Regions from separate parts of the Homo sapiens genome. Here region 2 is linked to region 1. The links are contacts of gene promoters, found by promoter capture Hi-C in blood cells and fetal thymus (Javierre and others, 2016). All regions are on one chromosome and are shown on one strand. Each heading gives the region's core, a stretch centred on a gene start or on the middle of the fragment in contact. The rest is flanking DNA. Distances are from core to core; before and after follow the strand shown. Region 1 holds the start of DES (desmin). Region 2 has its middle 24 kb from the start of SLC4A3.

Region 1 (5,167 bases), core at 446-2,945:
AGACAGTTGCGGGTGATAAAGCTGGCAGTGGAAACGACTGGCCGGGGGCTGACCAGGGGGTGGGTCCAGGACAGAGCGGGAGGGCCTGGCTGCTGGGTAGAGGCAGGAGAGACAGGGAGTGGAGAGGCCCCACCCACCCAGGGAGGGCACAGGAAGTGGCCCAATCTCTGCCCAGGAGCCACACCCTTGAAGTCTATGTCCCCACCAGACTGTGTGACCTCCCTGGGGTTAGAAACTGTGTCTATTTTATCCACCTCTGTGTTTCTGGTTCCCAGCTCCAGCCTGGCCAATATAGCTGCTCAATTAATATTTATGACTTTGGTGGCAGGAGGGTGACTGTGCTCACTTGGCCTGTCAGAAGTGGGACCAACAAATATGCTACACTTGCTGCCCTTTTCGTTCTTGGAGCCTGGTGAAGTCTACAGTCAGGTCCTCCCAAGCTCTCTGAGAGCTGTGACCCCCACCTACTCCCTTTTTCTCCAGCCTGTCCATTCACCTTGTAAAAAGACACAGTCTCGGCAAGGCCCCAGGGCCAAGCTCCCCCCTCCCCCCACCTCCCCCAGGGCCTCATCACAGCTGAGCTGAGAGCTGTTGCTTGGACTCTGGGCCCTTGCCCTGCTTTCCCTGTCTCCTATCAGCCTCCCTTCTCCCTCTGGCTACACTGCCCTCTGGGCCTCCTGCAGCCCTTCCTCTGCCCATCAACTACCTGACCCCATAAATATCGCCCCAGCATCTTAAAATGCTTTTTAACGGGGCTGTCCACAGGGCACCGGGTCCCCTAAATTCTCCCATATCCACCCCCTGATCTATGTCCCCAAGAAAACTCCTGTGCAAGATGGGATCGCAGGGGGAGAGACCTGGAGGTCACGGCCCCTTGAAACACACAGGTGGAGGACCCTTTCTCCACATGGGGCAGGAGAGGGTCCCGGGCCCCGGGAGAAGGCAGGTGCTGACAGCGGGACCCCAGACCCCAGGCCTAGCCTCCTGTGCCCTGCCCGCAGAAAGAGGAGTCTGGGGTGCCGGGCCCTCACTTGGCCTTGAGCCGCTGCAGGTCGTCGAGCAGGTTGTCGCGCTCGACGTCGACGCGCGCGCGCTGGTTAGTGAGCACCTCCACCTGGCGCCGCAGCTCCCGCAGCTCCTCCTCGTAGAGCTCGGCCACTCGCGTCGGCTCGCGGCCCTTGAGCCGGTTCACTTCGGCGGCGAGCGCCGCGTTCTGCTGCTCCAGGAAGCGCACCTTCTCGATGTAGTTGGCGAAGCGGTCATTGAGCTCCTGCAGCTCCACCTTCTCGTTGGTGCGCGTGGTCAGAAACTCCTGGTTCACCGCGTCGGCCAGTGAGAAGTCCAGCAGCTCGCCTGCGCCGTAGGAGGAGGGCGTGCGGGTGGTCCCCAGCCGGCTGGCCCGCAGCGACCCCAGGCCCCCGGCCCCGCCCGACGTGCGCGACACCTGGTACACGCGGGACGTCACCGAGCTGGAGGAGCCCTTAGAGCCGAAACCCGCCCGCGGGAACACGGGCGAACTCAGCGGGGAGCCGAGTGGGAAGCCCGGGGCCCCGCCGAAGGTGCGGCGGTAGGAGGACACGCGCTGGCTGGACGAGTAGGCCTGGCTCATGGTGACGGCGCGGGCGAGGCTGGCGGGCGCACGGAGGAGGCGGCGGGCAGGCGGCCGGCCGGAGAGTGGATGCGGCGAGGGGAGACAGGGCCCCCAGCCGTCGGCACTATTTGTATCCCTCCTGACATCAGCCCCCGCCTCCCCTCCCCTGACAGCTGCAAGATCCCGCTGTCCTGCCAGGAAAGGGCGGCCCGTGGCCGTGGGGGCGGGGAGGCCAGCTCCCCCGCAAGAGGCCTGCGCCCCTGAGTCAGCCAGCGGGGGTCCTGTGACGGGCAAGCCTGCCAATCCTTCGCCAGGGCAGGCAGCAAGCATGTCTGCAGCCCCCAGGCGGGCCTCTTTCAGCCCTGGTTATCTCCTCGTCCTGGGGTGGGGGGGAGTGGGGTCAGGGGAGACAGCAGAAGAGAGGCTTCCCTTTAGTTTGAGGGTCCCCTTTTTGGTCAAGGAGAGACTTTGGGTCATTTCTTAAAGGGTCAAGGCCTGTTCCCAGGAAAGGCCCTAAACCACCTTGTTCCTAAATATTCTCTTGAAGTCGAAGAGGTTTGGGTCTCAGGCAAAGACCAGCCAGGCTTGAGGGTGGGGGTCTCTAGGCAGGAAGGGAGGGCAGGGAGACGCCTGGCAGGCGGAGGGATCCTGGCCAAAGCCTGCCTGCCATGTATGTCTATGGGCGAGCTAGCCCTGAGCCTCAGTTTCCCTCTGGACTAGTGCAGGCCCTCTTCCTCCCCGGTACTGTCGAGGGTGGGGCCTCAAGTTTATAAACAGTGGGCTGATTTCCAGAAAGGGTCTGATAAGCTTTCAGTTTCCAATTGCTATGTGCGCTCCCACCCCCGCACAGACTTTGTGTGGCTCCTGCCCCCTGGGTCCCCCGCCCCCTCCCTGATTCATCCCCCTACTCACACCACCCACGCCCACACACACCAGGGGTTTGTGTTTTGTCAGGAGCCGCATGTCAACCCAACCATCTCCCTGGCAGCAACAGCTGCCAACCCCAAATACCAGAGCGGGTATTTATAGAGGAGAACGCATGGCTGGGAAACAAGGCACAGGAGAGGAGCTGTGGGGGGCAGGGGGTACCTGAGGAGGCATGGGTGGGCGTCAGATAAGGAAGGCTAGGGTGACAGCCCCAATCACTTCCCACCCCCTATAATGCTCCAGCCCCCACCCCCACAAAAATGGAGCCCCACAGAGGGCCTGCCCAACCTCCAAAGCCCCCTCCTTAGCACACGGCACTTGCTAACCCCTAAGGACATCCACCATTCTCCATGGGTACTGGCCGTGCCTCTACACCTCCACTTGGCACTCCAGGTCCCTCTTGGACCTGACCCTTTTGGAATGCAAACCCTGAAAATAGAGTGCTCGATTAGGAGCCAGTCACTGGTCCTACCCTAGACCTGCCATCACCAGCTGGAGGGGTTACTAGTAGGTGTGTCCTTGTCTGAGCCCCAGCTCAGGCACGTCCTCTCTGAGCCCCAGCTTGTCAGATATAAAGTGAGGATGGTTAGCCTTGCCATGCTACCCTATAAAGGTTTAAAGAGGCCCAGGCCCTACTAATGTATGTAGCAACAATAATACCTTACATGTACTGACCACCTAGTGTGGGCCAAGCTGCTGAGCACTTCACACCCATGACCCCCAATTCTCCAACCCTAGGAGGTAGACACTAGCATCATTCCCATTTTATAGCTCAGGAAGCTGAGACAGTGAGACCTCACAGCCTGTGGCTTTGGCCTCAGGATGGGTGTGAATGTGCCGGGTAAATTGTAAAGGGGGCTTTGTTACTGCACTCTTTTCAAAGCCCTTTCCCATTAAGTGTCTAATTTTCATCCAAGAGACAAGCTTCTGAAATAGATGGGGGAGTTCCAGATATTCTTATCCAGCCCTCGAGTCAGTGCAAGCTGTTGTGTTCTGGTTATTTTTGTGTCTCATCTCCCAGACTAGACTGTATGCTCCTGGAGGATTTTGGAGACCATGTGGATCCTTAACACACTCAGGCAGCACCGTCTTTCTCATTGTCATTCAAAGTAGCCTGCAAGCTTTCTTTTGCAATTTCCTTATTTTGATGACATGCTGTGCCTCCTCCCCATCCCTCCACCCCTAAAGACCCTGATTCCAGCCAGTCTTATTACTGCATCTCCCTGACTTCAGTGACTGGGTCAAGGAATGGGCCTGGGAATGAGCAGGGCCAATCAGAGACCTTCCCTGGAATTTATAGACGGAACTGGGATTCTTCAACTGGAACCTGTGGAAGCCATGTTTCCTGCCCCCTGGGGGAGTAGGAAGAAAGAGAGGTCAATATGTAAGAAGCAGAGGAGGCTGGAGAGGAGGAGCAGGCCAGCCCCTTGGTTCCTGCAGTGCTTCCCTCAACTTTGTGAGTTGAGCTCCCACACTGTCCTTCCTGGCCTTGGGCCAACAAACTTTCCGTTTTTTTTTTTTTTTTTTTTTTTAATTTAAGGCACTTGGTATTGCTTTGATCACTTACAGCCCAAAGAACCAGATTAATCTTCCTGAAGGGGACTCTACACCTATTTCTATGATGCTACTGGGACAACATTTCTGGAGCTCTTCTCTGTGAATGATCTCCAGACCACATAAGGAAATTGGCCTTTGGACCAGCCCAAGTCCTCAGTTCCTTGGTGAAAAGAGGCAGAAGACAAATAAATCATGCCATCTATTCTCTAGTCAAAATCAACAACCACCAGACTTGGCCCCGAACCACTTGGGACTGTTTTCAAAATTCAGTTCCACCCCTGAGGATTTGCTACCATGGAGGGCTGCAAATCAACACCCCGAGGCTTGGAAGGCAGGTGAAAGAGGAGCACTCCAAAACATGCTGTGAGCTGGGCAGCACCGCTGGAGGGAGAGTTCAGCCTCCCGAGAGGACCACTCAGGATGGGACACACTAAAAATACCGACAATTTATTTGGATGGGTAGTGTATATGGTACAAAATTCAAGATGTGCAAAAAGGCATAAAATGAAAAGTAAGTCTCCTTCCCACTTTGACACCCAGCCACCCCAAACACTGCTTCAGAGACAACCAGGTTTTGGTTGTTATCGGTTCCTTTCAGAGATACTTCATGTACACACAACCACATTTTCTTATGTGGAGCCCCCACTTCTGAATCAATCTTTTTTCAATGACATACAGCTTAGAGATGGTTCCATTTTAGTACATTGACAGCTGAGTCACTTTTACATTGTGATAAAATATACATAAAATAAAATTCACCATTTGAGCCATTTTTTAAGTATACAGTTCAGTGGCGTCAAGTACATTCACATTGTTGTACAACTATCCCCACCATCCATCTGCAGAACTTTTTCATTGTCCCAAGCTGAAACTCCATATGTATTAAAAATAACCCTCCACCTTCCCCTCCTCCCAGCCCCTGGTAAACATCATTCTACTTTCCGTTTCTACGAATTTGACTCTAGGTACTTCATGCAAGTGGAATCATACCATATTTGTCCTTTTGTGACTGGCTTACTTCCCTTAGCATAACGTCTTCAAGGTTCATCCATGTTGTGACATGGGTCAGAATTTCCTTTCTTTTTAAGGCTA
Region 2 (5,204 bases), core at 1,081-3,580, 230 kb before region 1:
AAATACTGAAACAGCTTTTCATCTCTAATAAATTCCACATGATCATGATATATAATTTTTTTCTATATTGATGAATTATATTTGCTAATATTTTGTTAAAGATTTCTTGCATCTATATTCAGGAGAGATGCTAGTCTTTAGATTTCTTTTTTGGGGATTATTTTTGTCTGGTCTTGATATCAGAGGAATACTAGCTTCATAAAGTTCATTAGGAAGTATTACCTCCTCTTCTATTTCTGGAAGAGGTTGTGTAAAATTGGTAGCAATTCTTATTTAAATATTTAGTAACATTCTTCAGTCAAACCATCTTGGCCTGGAAATTTGGAGGTGGGGTAGGTGAGGAGGAGTTTTAATTTAAGAAATTAGCTTTGTTAATCATTACAGGGCTATTCATTAGAGGCTATTCATTACAGGGCTATTGTCTCTTTTTTTTAAGAGACAGGGTCTCACTCTGTCACTCAGACTAGAGTGCAGTGGCTTGATCACAGCTCACTGCAGCCTTAAACTCCTAGACTTCCTAGACTGCAGTGATCCTCCCATCTCAGCCTCCTGAGCAGCAGGGATTACAGGCACAAGCCATGGTGCCCAGCTTCAAATTAGCTCTTTTATATAGAGTGAGTTGTGGTCATTTGTGGTTTTTTGAGAAATGGTCTATTTCATCTAGGTCGCTAAATTTATGTGTGCAAACTTATTCATAGTATTCACTTATCAGTCTTTGATGTCTGCTGCAAGGTCTTCAGTGATATCCCATTTCTTTTTTTTTTTTTTTTTTGAGACGGAGTCTCACTCTGTCACTGAAACCTCTGTGTCCCAAGTTCAAGGAATTCTCGTGCCTCAGCCTCCCGAGTAGCTGGGATTACAGGCATGCACTACCACGCCCAGCTAATTTTTGTATTGTTAGTAGAGATGGGGTTTCACCACGTTGGCCAGGCTGGTCTCAAACTCCTGACCTCAGGTGATCCACCTGCCTCGGCCTCCCAAAGTGCTGGGATTACAGGCGTGAGCCACTGCACCCGGCCTGTTTCATTCTTGATGTTGGTAATATGTGTCCTCCTTTTTGTCAGTCTTGCTAGAGATTTGTCAATTTTATTGACCTTTTCAAAGAACAAATTCTTTGTTTCATTGATTTTCTCTATTGTTTTTCTGTTTTCAATTTTGCTTATATCTACTCTTATCTTTATTATTTCCTTCCTTCCGTTCACTTTGGGTTTAGTTTGCTTATCTTTTCTAGGTTCTTCAGGTGGGAGCTTAGATTATTAGTTTGAAACTTCTCCTCTTTTCTAATGTACACATTTAATGCTATATATTTCCCTCTCAGCATTGCTTTGGCTGTGTCCCACAAATTTTGATGTGCTATATTTTAGTTTTCATTTAGTTCAATAATTTTTTAAATTTTCCTTGAGTCTTCCCTTTTGACTCATTAATTACTTAAAATATGTTGGTTTAGTTTCCAAGTGTTTGGAGATTTTCCTATTATTTTTCTGTTATTCTAGTTTAATTCCATTGTGGTCAGAAAACTCTATATTATTTTAATTCTCTTAAGTTTGTTGCAATGTGTTTTATAGCCCAGAATAGGGTCTATCTTGGTATATGTTCCATGAACATGCAAAAAGAATTTGTATTCTGATGGTTTAGTCTTAGTGTTCTATAAATGTCAATTAAATCCTCTCAGTTGATGTTGAGTTCTTCTATATCCTTGCTGACTTTAGCTATCAATTGTTCTAGCAATTGTTGAGAGAGGGGTGTTGAAGTCTCCAGTTACAACTGTGATTTGTCTGTTTCTCTTTTCAGTTCAATTGGGTTTTGCTTCTCCTATTTTGCAGCTCTGTTGTTTGGTACATGTACATTTAGGATTGCTATGTCTTCTTGGTGAATTGACTATTTTATCATTACATAGTATCCCTCTCTGTCTCTTACTGCTGAATGATTACAAAGGTTCTGACTCCCCACTAGGCATCCTCTGACACCATCCAGTGGTGCCGAGACCAGCTGGGTCAGGGAGACCCTAACCTAGCGGCGCTAGAGGAATTAAAGAAACACACACAGAAATATAGAGGTGTGAAGTGGGAAATCAGGGGTCTCACAGCCTTCAGAGCTGAGAGCCCCGAACAGAGATTTACCCACATATTTCTTAACAGTAAACCAGTCATTAGCATGGTTTCTATAGATATTAAATTAACTAAAAGTATCCCTTATGGGAAATGAAGGGATGGGCCGAATTAATTTCAGCAGGAACACACCTTAAGACACAGATGGCTCATGCTTTTGTTTGTGGCTTAGGAATGCCTTTAAGCGGTTTTCCGCCCTAGGCGGGCCAGGTATTCCTTGCCCTCATTCACGTAAACCCAGAACCTTCCAGCTTGGGCGTTAGGGCCATTATGGACATGCTACAGTGCTGCAGAGATTTTATTTATGGCCAGTTTTGGGACCAGTTTATGGCCAGATTTTGGGGGGCTTGCTCCCAACACAGTGGGAAGGAGGAAGAGTGCCTTATTACTGCTAGATGGGGCTGGAAGTCCAGGCTCTACTTGGTCTCCTATGACATCACTTCATCGTGAGTACTGAGGTGCCTTGACAGTTTCTCAAGGTTGGAAGTATAAGCTGCCAATTTAGCCTTTGTTAGCCTGAGTTGGGATGGGGAGATCACAGATTTTTCTGCTGCATTTGGCTGTTACTGTCTGAAAGTTTTCTGTCTTGCTCTGTTTCTTCTTTCCTACCCCTTTGACTAGAGAGAGCAGACTTTGGTTGGGGCTTTTTTGCCTACACCTATTGGCATTTCTGCATTGCCAGCTTCTTCAGCTCCAAGTCTGGGATATATGACACAAAAAGAAAATACAAGGAACTCAGTAATGTATTATTCCTTGGGTCCCAAGGTCCCTAGCTGGTCTGCCTTCTTCTTGCCTCCATTCAGAGACTTATATTTCTTTTATACTTTGCAAGAGGAATAGAAACAGTATATCTACTATAATTTACTTTTTAATAATGACTATGTTTAACAACCAGTTCACAAGTCCCTGAAATTTTTACAAGCAGCTCTTGTAAGCTAGCTCCAACACATCACTACTGAGTGTCAGAGCCAGAGCTGCCTCCCACCACAGAAGCTGAAATGCCAAAAGCCTCTTTCCCAGCCTTCTAGCAACTTCGACACAGGCACATGACATAAGCCAGTCAGGAACATCCACCTGAGACCTTGTGATGGATGCAGGTATTAGTGATGGATGCAGAGAAGAGGGGCAGTGCAGAATCCTCCTGGTGGCCGTTCCAGGGGTGATATCCCCCACCAGGGGCGCAACTGTGGCATCTCACGTTCCACAGCAACAGCCACATTGCCACCGGATGTTTTCTGTGGCATGTCTGTGACCATGGTTCTGAGTTGGAGTCTCCTACCTTCCCAGTGTCTGTGAATGGCTTTTCAACAGCCCTGTTTCTGCTTAAATTAGCTGGAGCTGGCTTCTGTTTGGTGCAAATAAGAATTTTGACTGATACACATTCCCACTGGCTCTCAGCAGCAAACCCCCTGGGAAACAAAAACCTCAGCCTCTACCACAGAATGTCCTTATTCTTGCTCAGGGGAAATTATCTGAGGAATAATTAACAGCAAACAGAACAGTAGAATGTAACTTAGAAGGGCTTACTGAGAGGGACTGCTAAGACCCCAAAGCCATCACGATTTAACCTGCTTTCTTAGTTGCCAAATACCCTCCTCAGCAATTCTGATCCCCCGCACAGTAAGCGTGTGTTTAATTACAGTCTCCTGTGAGATGAGCAATTTGGCATGGTGCAGAATATACCATCTAGCCTGACCTTGGGAACAAGACAATCCAATGACACTAAAATCTTACTTTCCTTTCTCCCTTTCCCACTTCCGTTCTCTCCCCCTGCACTGCTGAAGACTCACTGGTTAGGAAAATATTTTATGTCTTATGTCCTTGAGGGTGGCTTTTGCGCACTGAAAAGACCACTCTGAGATTTACTGGGGTTTTGAAAATCAGTATTCAATTTATTAAATTTATAGATTTAGAAATTTATAGCTCTTCCTTAACGCTTTTAAAATCACCTTAGGAATCTTATTGTCCTATTTATAAGTCTAGCAAATATTAACAATCACTTTGAGAGGGTTTTGATTAATGCTTAGCCCCATTTACACACTTAGTTAATTAAAAGTCTTTAACATTTTAAATGGCACTTAATAAATTTAATAAATTCAATTCCTTTTTAAGTATTTCATCTGACTGATAAAACTTCCCAAGTACAAAAGTAATTCTTACAGATTTAATAAATTCAGCATACAAGACAGAGTGAACCTTAAATTCTCTTCAATGTCCAAACTATATGTAAACTTGGAAATATTTCAACTTATCACAAATTTCAATCAATTATTCAAGTACATACATTAAAATGAAATATTGAAGGTGGTCTAATATTCCAGTAGGCCGAATTCTCTAAAATTATGCCTACACAAATATTATATATGCACAAATTCTTTAACTTGAAAACATGAAAACTATAGTTTTGATTCCCCTAAACATTTGTGTGCTTAATTTTAAATTTTCCCAGGGCTAAAAAAATTAAACGAGATGAAAATAAATTTTCCCAGGGCTAGTAAAATGTCTATCCACAAGAGAGGTATTCCCTTCTCAGCCACCTGAGGTTGCTAATCAACCAGAGATTCTGGGTGGGATGCCGACTGCATCTTAGCTGCTGACTCTATGGACCTGTAGAGCCCTATTTCCAGTTTTTAACTTTCTAACTTAAAGATGGAGGTGGCTGAGTAGACTAGTCCCTTGATTACAAGTGATCAGTTACTAAAGGTCAAGCCAGAGTGTAGTCCATAACTCCCTATCCAGGTTCTATACCTGATTGTGTATTTATGTGACCATTAAGGCTTATAACTACATATTTGTCCATCTATCTCTACAGAATCCTGCATCCTTTTCATGTGCTTCTTATCTCATAGGACCACACACCTCTTATAGATGTTTAAACGTCACCTAATTGAATTCTAGTGACGTCACAGCTTTGTCCAATATCCTGAGATCATTCTCCAAGTCACTGCTCACCCCCACCCCCTCACCCTACCCATCCCACCCTCTGTGGTCTCTGAGTTTCTGACTCCCCTAGGAATGCAAAAATGGACTCCCCCAGGATCTACACACCTTTTGACGTGGCGAAACTAAAGAAGAAAGTTCCTAAGCCTAGTAACT

The links. The method cuts DNA at HindIII sites, captures the fragments that hold promoters and counts their contacts. A CHiCAGO score of 5 or more calls a contact.
Region 2: a fragment that was not itself captured here is called in contact with the fragment with the promoter of DES in region 1 in 1 of 17 cell types (M0 macrophages); the score reaches 5.3 in M0 macrophages.

Annotation. Positions count from the first base shown.
Region 1 is chr2:219,414,905-219,420,071 of GRCh38, reverse strand. DES (desmin) reads right to left here and starts at 1,695. Exons shown (of 9, transcript NM_001927.4): 1 at 1,032-1,695. The coding sequence starts at 1,609. RefSeq lists a promoter at 1,620-1,924, a silencer at 1,925-2,400, enhancers at 2,401-2,557, 2,558-2,676, 2,401-2,676 and cis regulatory regions at 2,597-2,603, 1,620-2,676. The HindIII fragment of the contact is 3,605 bases long and covers 1-2,400 here.
Region 2 is chr2:219,648,963-219,654,166 of GRCh38, reverse strand. No RefSeq gene overlaps it. Among named protein-coding and RNA genes, the nearest start is that of SLC4A3, 24 kb to the right of the region's middle. The HindIII fragment of the contact is 7,031 bases long and covers 1-5,204 here.